Regions from separate parts of the Homo sapiens genome. Here region 2 is linked to region 1. The links are contacts of gene promoters, found by promoter capture Hi-C in blood cells and fetal thymus (Javierre and others, 2016). All regions are on one chromosome and are shown on one strand. Each heading gives the region's core, a stretch centred on a gene start or on the middle of the fragment in contact. The rest is flanking DNA. Distances are from core to core; before and after follow the strand shown.

The links. The method cuts DNA at HindIII sites, captures the fragments that hold promoters and counts their contacts. A CHiCAGO score of 5 or more calls a contact.
Region 2: a fragment that was not itself captured here is called in contact with the fragment with the promoter of ATE1 in region 1 in 1 of 17 cell types (total B cells); the score reaches 5.4 in total B cells.

What each region holds. Positions count from the first base shown.
Region 1 is chr10:121,926,781-121,931,356 of GRCh38, forward strand. ATE1 (arginyltransferase 1) reads right to left here and starts at 1,251. Exons shown (of 12, transcript NM_001001976.3): 1 at 1,064-1,251. The coding sequence starts at 1,169. It also overlaps the pseudogene ATE1OSP. RefSeq lists enhancers at 463-612, 1,151-2,017 and silencers at 923-1,342, 1,533-1,832, 3,654-3,948. The HindIII fragment of the contact is 6,802 bases long and covers 1-4,279 here.
Region 2 is chr10:118,034,205-118,041,664 of GRCh38, forward strand. It overlaps RAB11FIP2 (RAB11 family interacting protein 2), which reads right to left. Exons shown (of 5, transcript NM_014904.3): 2 at 5,919-6,361; 3 at 4,768-5,236. Among named protein-coding and RNA genes, the nearest start is that of CASC2, 8.9 kb to the right of the region's middle. RefSeq lists a silencer at 1,423-1,616. The HindIII fragment of the contact is 2,009 bases long and covers 2,752-4,760 here.

The DNA of each region.
Region 1 (4,576 bases), core at 1-2,500:
GTAATCATGTCGCATAAGCCATTTGCATCCTGTTGATTTTCTCCGTTTAAGTCCAAACTGGAAGCATTTTTCCATTTAGTCTTCATAATCCTCACTTCTAACGATTGCATAACTGTCTACTCAAAACCGCTGCCCACAAGTAGCACTTAATAAACACTTTTAATGAAGGAGCAAATGCACACACCGTTATCGACCAAATCATTCCCCACTTACACCTTTTTCATGGAAAATGCCTGTGTGTTTTCATGCGAATCTCGTTTTCCACAAAGCTAGACTGTTCTATTAAAATAATAGAGTCTACATTCTATATTGGCAAATGCATGGCAAGAGAGGAAATAAACACGATGTTTTGTTTACCAGCAACAAATCTCCCCCAAAGAAATCTGAATCACGATGGAAAAACAAAACAAACTTGTGGGCTGGCTTTGCTGTCGTCCGGGTGGGTGGAGGAAAGACACGGCATATAAGCAAATGGTAAAAATTTCAAACAGATCAGGACAAACAGAATCCCTCGCCGGTAGCGACCGCGGTCACCAGTTTCTTGTCCTTTTTTTTTTTAACTTTTTTTTTTTTTAACCCAGAGATGCAAAGGGCTCATCCTTCCTGTACATTCGTCCAGGGAAGTCTGATTCATACATGACCGGCACCTGTGTGCACACCCACAGCTCCCTCTGCACCGCGTTTCGCCCTCGCTCCCGGGACGCTCCCACCGCAGCACCCACCGGTCAGCCCCGGCCATTAACTACGGCTCTGGGGCGTTCCCTGGCACTGCGCGCCGTCCTTCACCTCACACAATCTACCCCAGACGGGCGTCCGTCTCCCGACTCTGGGGAGACCACCACGATTTCGAGAGTACGGGCACCGGTTAGGATTTTCCTGCAGAACAGGCACCGCGAAGCTGCCCCGCTAAGCCGGCGCCGCGGCCCTCCCGAGAGTGCCCCCTCCGTCTCGGCCGTGGCACTGGGGCCAGGGGCTCCGGCCCCCTCGCGTCCTCGCTGGGGGACCCTGGGATCCCGAGACCCGGGCGCCCGGCTTCCCACGCCCGCCGGCCCGGCTCGCTCACCATTGGAGCGGCTGCCCGACTCGTTCTTGCAGTAGCCGCAGCGGTAGAAGTCCTCGCTAGGGAAATAGTCCACGACGCTGGGCGAACCCCCCGCCCAGAAAGCCATGGCCTCGGCCCCGCGAACGCTCAGCCGCCCGGCCCCGCGTCGCTAGCGCGGCCGCCGCCGCCACCCCACAATGCAGCGCGCCGCCCGGGAGCCTCCCGAGGCTCGCGCGAAGCCACTCGGGCGCCCGCAGGCCCGGCCGGCCCGGCGCCTCTTGGAGCTGACGCCGCCCGCGCCATCTTGACCGAGGGCAGCTTTCCACTATTTCCGTTCCTTCTCCATAAGGGGCCGCCGTCGTCAGTGAGGGTGAGGCGGAGAGACAGAGCGGGAAGGGAAACAGGATGGGGAGAGTCAAGAGGGGAAGGGAAGCGGGAGTCGGGGTGCGAGCCTGCCCTTTCCCCCGCCGAGGGCCTGTGCGGGGCGCGGCGGCCGCGCCAACTCCGGCGTCGGGAACACTCACCGCAGGACGCTTTGCCCTCCTTGGAATCGCAGTAGCCGCAGTGGTAGCCGGCCCTGAGGCCCTTGTATTCCACCACCGACGCCATGGCCGCCGCGAGGGTCCGCTCGGGCCGACCACGCCTCTTGGCGCCCGGGGCCGACCTCGGCGAAGCGCTGGGGCCCGCGGCGGGAGGGGTGGAGAGCGAAGCCTGGCGCGGGGACCCGTGGGCGGGGATGGTGGTCGTGTCCCCAAGCCCTGCGTTTGGGCCGGTGCTTCCCACAGCTGTGCGTTATCAGCCCCATTTCACAGGTAAGGAAACTGAGGACCGGAGGTTGTGATTATCCCAAAGTCATTCCCGGCGGGTCTCGGATTGAAAGTCAGGCCGCCCCTGGCCACCGTGTAAGTGACTTGCTGGAGCTGCTTCCAGACCAGCTGGCACGCACTCCAGTGCCCTGAATACAAGAACACAAGCAGGTATTCCGTGAATGGCGAGGGTTCGCAAATTAAAGAACTCTTAACGGCTTTTAAAGGAAACAACTGTCAGCTAGAGACAGTTGCTGTCTTGTACCACTATAAGTCCGGTGCCTCATACGATTTTTAATGAGATGCTGGAAATACAGGGTTTGTTTGTTTTTTTTAACTCTACAGTCCAAACAAAACAGTTTTACAGGCTGAATCCAGCCCATGGGCCTCCATTTTGCAACCACTATTTTAAGGAAGATTTAAGGAATAAGAGTCTAGGGCAAAATATAAAATTGAGGCTCATGCCTGTAATCCCAGCACTTTGGGAGGCCGAGGCGGGCGTATCATGAGGTCAGGAGATTGAGACCATCCTGGCTAACACGTGAAACCCCGTCTCTACTAAAAATACAAAAAATCAGCCTGGCGTGGTGGTGGGCGCCTGTAGTCCCAGCTAGTCGGGAGGCTGAGGCAGGAGAATGGTGTGAACCCGGGAGGCGGAGCTTGCAGTGAGCCGAGATCACGCCGCTGCACTCCAGCCTGTGTGACAGAGCAAGACTCCATCTCAAAAAAATTTTTTAAAAAATGAGTTCCAGGGGCGGGCGCGGTGGCTCACGCCTGTAATCCCAGCACTTTGGGAGGCCGAGGCGGGTGGATCACGAGGTCAGGAGATAAGAGACCATCCTGGCTAACATGGTGAAACCCCTTCTCTACTAAAAAATACAAAAAATTAGCGGGACGTGGTGGCACGCGCCTGTAGTCCCAGCTACTCGGGAGGCTGAGGCAGGAGAATGGCGTGAACCCGGGAGGCAGAGCTTGCAGTGAGCAGAGATCGCGTCACTGCACTCCAGCCTGGGCGAAAGAGCGAGACTCCATCTCAAAAAAAAAAAAAAAGAGTTCCAACAAGGTAATATGCCTTATCTTTCCCTCTGCGTGCACAGATAATTTAAGCCTGTCTGTCCTCATAGTTTTCCCAGTCAACAATAAAGCTGATGATACAATATTGTTTTAAGTGTGTTTAAAAAAGTGAAATGAAACTCAGAGAAATAGAAATAAATTTTTGAGGTGAGTTTTGACATTCTTGACCCCAAGGGCCTGTGTTAGATATGTACCTAGCTGAAGGAGGTTTCTTGGTGGCCTGGTGACTTGTTGAAGGGGGCCAGCCCCTCCACACCTGTGGGTGTTTCTCGTCAGGTGGGACGAGAGACTGAGAAAAAAAGTAAGACACAGAGACAAAGTGTAGAGAACAGTGGGCCCAGAGGACCAGGGCTCAGCATACGGAGGACCCGCGCCAGCACTGGTCTCTGAGTTCCCTCAGTATTTATTGATCACTATCTCTACCATCTCGGTGAGGGGGATGTGGCAGGACTATAGAGTAATGGTGGGGAGAGGGTCAGCAGGAAAACGTGAGCAAAGATCTCTGTGTCATAAGTTTAAGGAAAGGTGCTATGCCTCAATGTGCACGTAGGCCAGATTTATGTCTGGCTTTACACAAACATTTTAGTGCAGTAAAGAGCAATATTGCCGCCAGCATGTCTCACCTCCAGCCATAAGGCGGTTTTCTCCTATCTCAGTAAATAGAACGTATGATCGAGTTTTACACTGAGACATTCCATTCCCAAGGAAAAGCAGGAGAGAGATGCCTTCCTCTTACCTCAACTGCAAAGAGGCCTTCCTCTTTCACTAATCCTCCTCAGCACAGACCCTTTATGGGCTGGGGGACGGTCAGGTCTTTCCCTTCCCACGAGGCCATATCTCAGGCTATCACATGGGGAGAAACCTTGGACAATACCTGGCTTTCCTGGGCAGAGGTCCCTGTGGCCTTCCACAGTGCATTGTGTCCCTGGATACTCGAGATTAGAGAATATCAATGACTTTTACCAAGCATACTGTCTTCAAACACATTTTTAACAAAGCACATCCTGCACAGCCCTAAATCCATTAAACCTTGAGTCAACACAGCACATGTCTGTGCAGGCACAGGGTTGGGGCTAGGGTTACAGATTAACAGCATCTCAAGGCAGAAGAATTTCTCTTAGTACAGAACAAAATGGAGTTTCTTATGTCTACTTCTTTCTACGAAGACACAGTAACAGTCTGATCTCTCTTTGTTTTCCCCACGCTTGTTAATACTGCCAAGCATCACTTGTGCCTCCCACAATCGGAAGGCACCTAAGGAGTGGCCATGTAATATCCAGCAGCTTCTCAGGCGTTCCTCCAACTTCTTAAACTTGAAAACTGCATGCTATATCTCAGTATTCATGTTCTTAAGTCAAGCTTCATCCATTTTGTTCTTTATGGCAGATTTGACTATTCCCAGTCCTTTCCCAGACCGGCTCTCATTTTGAACAAAAGCAAAGCCCGTGGAATGCATCAGAAAGAGAGCAGAATATGCTCTGGACAGAAGGTGGACCAGGAGGCTTTTTGGTCTTAATATTCCTGTCCCACTTCACTTCTGTCCCTCTAAAGCCTCATCCTTATCCTAAGTCCTACACTAACCTCAGCCAGGGCACTTCAAGACATGCCAGCCTTGAAAAATAATGAGAATGTCCAAAGTCCTAGGCATATGTGG
Region 2 (7,460 bases), core at 2,506-5,005, 3.9 Mb before region 1:
TTTGCCAATCCCTGGTCCAGGATATGGAGGAAGAGGCAAAACGGAGGATTGTGTTAAGAGTGTTAAGAGGACATTCCATGGGCCAGACCTGAAAGTGGTATACATCTCTTCCATGAACTCTTAAATAAGCCAGAACTTGCTATGTCCTAGTTAAAAAAAAAAAAGAAATGAAATGAACAAATTTGGCTTGGTGAAGACACACACCCATCATTTCCACTTTTAAGTGAAAAACAGCCTGGTGGTAACATTATTTACAATTTATTATTTGTGATTTTATAATATATTAAAAGATAATTTGTTGTGAACAAATTAAAAATGGTATAACAAACATTCAGGCATATTTGTTTTTGGCAAATGATATACTGCTGATAAAAAGAAGGATTACTTCGCAAATTGTGTGATAAACCAAATGATAAATTAGTTGACAATTTATTTGATAAAGCATGAAAAAAATTAGTTGATACTGATGATGCTAAACAACCTGTGACTTACAATTAAAAAACAAGACTAGTGGCAATTATAAAATACAAACAACTTAGTACCAGTAATAAACTGAGAAAACATTCTCCTGAAGATTACAAGAACTCCAACACTACTTACTGTATATGTGTCATAGGAGTTTTGCAGCATGCCAGCATTGGACAGCATCCCGACTTCTTAGTAGCAAGCTGATTAGGCATCAATGGCACACACAATATTGTAAGCTCACTAAACCCAATTCAGCTTCCTTCTGCGTATACAGCTAAGTCACAGTTCTTCACAGGTTGCAGTGAGGCTGGGGCACGGGTGAGCTCTGGCCAATGGGACATATGTGGAAGTAATGCATACTGCACTAGGCCTGGCACACAGAAATGACCCTCCTTTGATCCTCTCTCTCCTCCTGCGCTGCACTGATCTTGGAGGCCATGTGTTAAATGGTGGCATCACAAGAAGGAAGAAGCCTGCTTCCTGAGAGACTGTGCAGAGCTGGATGAATGCATAGAGCAAAGCACTCACTTTTCCTATCACCATTCCAGTGAACTCCTTTGTGACAAGAGTGAGCAATAAACTTTTGCTGTGATAAGCCACTGATACCGTGGTTATTACAGCTGACAACCTACCCTAATACACAGTTCTTAATAGTCTCCAGAAATGTGCTATTTAGATTGAATATTAAATTTTAGTAATCCTTTAAAACTTAGATTTTTAACAATGTTTAGTTGTACATAAAAATGCATACATACGGCTTTATGGATCTGTTTTCAGTCTATTAGAAAGATCTTCACAGCCCACGCAAGCAGGGCTGGAAGTAGGAGGCTAACGGAATGAGAGTAGCATTTCAGGAAACTGCTATACTGTGTGCATTAGGAAACTGGTTTGCTACACTGTGTGCATTAAGAAACTGGTCTGCTATACTGTGTGCGTTTATTCAAAATATCTAATACCTGCTACCTACCAAGCATCACGCTGGAGACTAAGGGCAAAAAGAGGAATGAAATGCAGACCCTGCTATCAAACTCTTCATGGTAGTGGGCAAAAAAAGTGAGACTAAGCTATTAGTGAACAATGCCATGCCCACAGAAGACAAGACTTACGTAAGAAAATGCTGCAGCACAGGGAACAACTACCCCTCCCTACAAGAACAGGAAATGCTTCAAAGAAATAGGGGCATGTAAGAGACTGCAAATTAGTAACTTCGGGGAAAAGTGTTTCAAAGAGCCCTGCTCTTTGCTGAAGTAACCCAAGATAATGCCTAACTTCCTCTATCAGTTTTATGTAAAACTATGGGACCTATTCCAAGGACAGGATCAAAATGTGGTATTTTTTGTGGTTTCCAAAGTGCTTTCTTCAGGCGGACTTTACTTAACACTAAGGAATAAAAAGTCTAACTTCTAAAAAAAGTGTGCCTTAGTACATTTTAAAATTTTGGGCATAAAGAAAATTCTCCAGTTTTAATAATATACATTATTCAACCAGAGGGTAACAATATGGTTCCTAGGTACCAGCAATCACAAGTGAGCCAGTTCACTCACCAAGAAGAAAATGCAGTTCCATGGCTATGTATTTTACCCTTAACCTTGTTCAGCATTCTCACAAACACTGGCCACAAGAGTCCAGGAAACTGTAAATAGGTCTATTTAGCACTCCTGAAAAAAATTCACAGCACGTGTCTTAATAATGTGAGCCCATAGCTCCAAAAGTGCATTCGGTTAGGATGTTAATGTGAGAAATTTAAAATGTCCCAGATAGCTGAGGGTTGATACTGGGAGGAAAAATAGAACTATACTGTTACGTAAAGACAACACTACCTTGGCAATATCCTCCCAAATTCCACTCAAGATAAAGCTGCTTGCCAAAAGTGTGAACTGCACACTCTTCTTGGGTCTATTTATATTCAATTCTTCTTTTTTATAAGATTAACTAGAACTACCCCTTTACTGCAAATGTTTTACATTTACCACACGGATGGTTTGTGATGCAAAAAGAATAACTTCCTAGGAATCCACAAATGTTCTGTCCTCATATCTGGCATCTCATAAATATGAAGAAGAGAAAGTCATAAAATGAAAAACAACTATTTTTTTTTACATACTTGCAATCATTTCATACATCATAAAACAGCTCTAATTTTGCTAGAAACAGCCAATAATAATAAAGTAACTGAAAACAAAGCCTGGATGTGTCAAAATGCCACAGGCACTTTTAAAACCCGTAACAGCCCACATAAACAACTCAAATACAGGGCAATTAAAGATTTGCAAATACTCAATAAGCTTTTTTTTCCATATGCACCCATAATGTAAAAACATTATTTTCCTATCATTTTCCATTTTCTTGCTTTTCTTCTGACTCTAAAATTAGCTAAATTGCCCCATCTCCAAGTTACCTCAGACAGTTGTTTCCAACAACCTTCTGTAAAAAAAAGTTTAGTAAAGAGGGAAAGAAGCAAATATATTTCTATTTACCCATATAAGATTTAATGTAATATGTGAAGTACAGTATGTAAAATACCAAAATATTTTTGAATGGCATATCAAAACTATAAACTCTTCAATAAAATATTGATACCATATGATAAAAATGTTATTCTTCTGGAGTATGGTTTATAAACAGAACAGAATACTCTTTTAAACCATGGCAAATATCCATTTATAGGTAAAAGAAAACAAAAAAAGTACACTTCACTTTGAAAATTTAAATGCAAATTTTTAAAATATCATGGAAGATACATAAGAGAGGTGAGAGGGCACAGCCTAAAAGTGATTGATTGTTAATACTCTATTTGCTGTTTCTAGTGGGACAAAACAAAGCACTGTTTTTTAGTAAAATATAACATGACGATACATCAAACATAATTGTAGTCACCATTTATGGATTCCCTATTTGGGGCCTGGCTTTGTATTATGTACTTTCATTTATCCTCACCGAATCCTATCAAGTGGGATTATTTTCCTTGTTTCAAAGATGGAGATACTGAGGTTTATGGAGGTCATAGCACTTCTAAGCCAGTATTCCCATTCAGGTCTGTACACTCTATAATATTGTCTTGAAGAAAATCTTCTATTACGTGGTAAACACTCTAGCATGCTCTTCCAAGATAATTACAGTCATCTCTCAGTATCTGAGAGAGATTGGTTCCAGGACTCCAAGGATACCAAAATCCAGGGATATTCAAGTCCCCTATACAAAATGGTACAGTATTTGCACATATACGCAACCTCCCATATATTTTAAATTATCTCTAGATTACTTATAATACCTAATACAATGTAAACCAATGTAAACAGTTGTTACACTGTACTGTTTTTTAAATCTGCATTATTTTTTCATTACTATATTGTTATTTCTTATTTATTTTTTTAAATATTTTCACTCCATGGTTGATTGAATCCAAAAATGCAGAACCTGCAAATATGGGGGGCCAACTATACTTAAGATGGGAATAAATTTATCTTTTCTTTGCTTGAGGTTTCCTTAATCAGCTATTTCATCGTTTACTTCTGTAAAATCCATAACCATATTTAAATTTATTCCTTAGCATATCTACACTTATATCTATATATGTAGATATAAATTTATATAGATATAGATTTAAATTTAGATATATAGATATAATTTAGATATACTAAGGAATAAGAAAAGCACCATTATATATATAACTGAAAACTCAAAGTTGGAAAATCCAATCTTTCTCATGAGTGATTATTTCTGACTATAAATCATCATATAGATCCCTTGGGTATACCTACAGAACCCATGAGGGTTACTGAATTCCAATAACAAGCATTCTCAAATAAAAACCACTTCTAAATAGCCATTTAATAAGGATAATTAACATCTATTAGGAAAGCCATTAATACTGAAGCTGGCGTTTTTTAAAGAATAGCACATGGGCTGCTGTTGGTCCTTTCCAGGTAGCCCATGAACGAATCCCTAGAAACATTATCACCTAAATTTCTGGCTTGAACTAACACCCACTGGCAATTCACTCTCGCCATGTCTCATCACAAGCCATGTTGTTTTCTAAGTTTTGGTGAATTTCTGGCTCACATAAGTGGAAGTAGACCAGGATAGAGAATAAGAGTCTTTTATCTTCTTAAGATAAAAAAGTTCAGTTCCAAAAATATATGCAACATTGCCTGGCTCTATAATTTAATTATACAAATAAAAATGTTTTTCAAATAAAATAAAATGACTTGAAAATATTCTAGCATTTAAAAGAAATATTTGATACCTTCAAGTACAAGATTTTCCCAAATAGTAGAACTTCCCCCATATTAAGCTTACCTTGAAGATGGCATTATATTTGAAGCCCTGAATTTTGCTGTAAATGGATTGGTTGACTCATAATCAAAATAGTCCTGGCGATTTTCACTAAATGCATTAGGTGATTTCAAGTCACAAGGGCTATCAGATCCCCCATTGTTAAGTTTATCAGATCTTCTGCTATCTTTTTTTCCAGTCACTCTTTCAAACAGGCTAACTTTCTCCCTTTTCTCTCTTTTATTTTCTTTTCTTATTTCAATTGGTTTTGAAAATAAATTCATGCTGCTGTCCCATGTTTCGCTGCTTTCTTCAAATGGATTTTTCTTCCTTGGCAGTGTTGCAAATTTTTGGGGTAATGAAGCAGTCACATTTGTAAATGGGTCATTTTGTCTTCCGAAACACAATTCACCTTCATCCACAATGCTGTCAGGTTGGTTCATTTTAGAAGTATCAAAGCTTAATGTTCTTCTGTGTGGAGATTTGAGACTTCCTACAAACAATTTTGTAGTTAGTACATAATCAGTGACACATTACATCACACTATTTGACACAGTCTGTGTGCATTCTGCTGCTTTTAGAATGAGAGCAATTAGCCACTTAAATGTATTAACCTTCAAAAAATCAAGGAAACAATCTTAAAATGCTAAGGTGTAGCAGTCTGAAGCATCGAGGCTGATAACAACTAGCATATTGCTAGACCATTAGTAATGTATTCAGCTCACAATCATATAAACTATGATGTCAAAACTAGAGGTTCTGGTTGGCATGATAATGTTAAAAATTCTCAGAGACTTTTTCATTAGCATTAAATTTACTTTCTTACTTCTGAACATAAAAGTTTTCTTCTAAGGACTTTATGATGAAATGGAACATTCATTTATGCTCAGGGTTTTGAGATAGCAGAAACAGCAGTAAAACAGGCAGCCAAGCCATAAAAGGAAACTGGCACTCATTTTATTATCATCTAATAATATAAATACAAATGCAGACAAGCTCTGCCTTCAAGGAACTTACCAATTTGAGGTATAGTAGGTACTCAATATTTGATGAATGACAAAATTTGGAAAATACTACAAAGCAACTGCTATTTTGATTTACTAAATTTAGAAATTAAACTTTAAAAACTAAAAGGGTAGTTCAGACCAATGAGTACACAAGAATGTGACACTTACCACTTTCTGGAACTGTTCCAAAGGAATCTAACTGGTGTCCGAGAAGATGTGTTTGACCTATGGTGCCAGCCTTCAGTTTCTCAGAAGACATATGGGACCCAGATAAATCAGACATTGAATGCGCTGACGAGAGTCGCTGAGGACCCAAGAGAAAAGGCTTTTTTGGTTTGGATTTCATCTGTATTTCACCACTTGAAAATTCACTATTGGCATCGGGCATGTGAGTACTTGGAATGATTGCAGAAGACGTATCAGAAAATGTTCCATCATTTTTTCTACCCTTCATCTTATCTTTTAACTTTGCAAAAGGAGATCTGGTTTTGTCCTTCATTGATAAGTCAAACATACTTGCGGTCATATTGTTCCTCATAAACTGAATATTGACCTTTATCTCACCCCTGTTTTTGATTCGTTTTCCTTGTTTGGATTCTAATCTAAACCACCTTAAAGAGAAGAAAAAAAAATTGGCTGTAACACATAATAGAGAGAGGATACTGAGTTCTGTTACATACAAATAGCCTTTTAGGTAAAGTAACTATACATCAAGGCAACCTAAGCTCTGAATAAGAATCTGTCAGCCACAGTATTTCGGGCTTTACTTATTATTTAGTTTAAAAAACTGATCATTGTCTCTGTGATGTAACATATACTGAAGGAATGAATAGGTCTTTGGCAAGTTTGAAAATGTTTTCAGATAATCTTTTCTTTTGTAATTTGAAAATCACTCATCATCAAAAATTCTTATCAATGCTAGAAGTTTTCCATATGGGATTAAGTGTTGCTCACGGCCTAAGGACATTTTTTTTTAACATTAAAAGACATTGAGGCAGAGATTTTGAAAGAATTCACCAATACAAATTATTTTTGAGCATTATAAAATGAATCTCATGACATTTTAATACAATAATAAATACCTGGCCCCATCCCAAAATATTACTTACGTAAAAGTAGCAAAAGAATTTTGTTAACATTGGAGATCATTGCATATAGCTTGCTAATCATTAAAACAGCATATGATGTCATTTAGATTGACATAAAATGAATCAAAGCCTACTCCTGAATAAAATATGCAAAAAATAAGTAAAATGCAAGAAGTGACAAAAAATAAATCTTGTGAAGTTTTCAAAAGGAAAAAAAAAAACCTAAAATGCTTCTTGTTTGAATCTATTTGCTTCATTTTACTATTGCTACTGTGACAATACCAAATAAAAATTATTTTGAAAATGAAGCCAAATCTTACGTTTTAGTCCCTTCAATGTATGGCACTATCTGTATTTAAATGATATACAAGAAGCAATATTTTGGTTTTATAGTATTTTTATCCATGAGAAATTCTCCAGTTGGCCATGTCACAAGTGGTCATTCTATGGGAAAACAGCCAAAAAAAACTACAAAATCAAGCCTGAAAGAGTTTCTACAATGTTTTCACATAACTTAGCAATGAGGCATAATATCCATTCCTGCACACAGGTTATTATTTAAATATAGCTCTAATCGAGTGTAACAAATTTTCTTAGCTACAAAGGAACTCTGATCTAATTT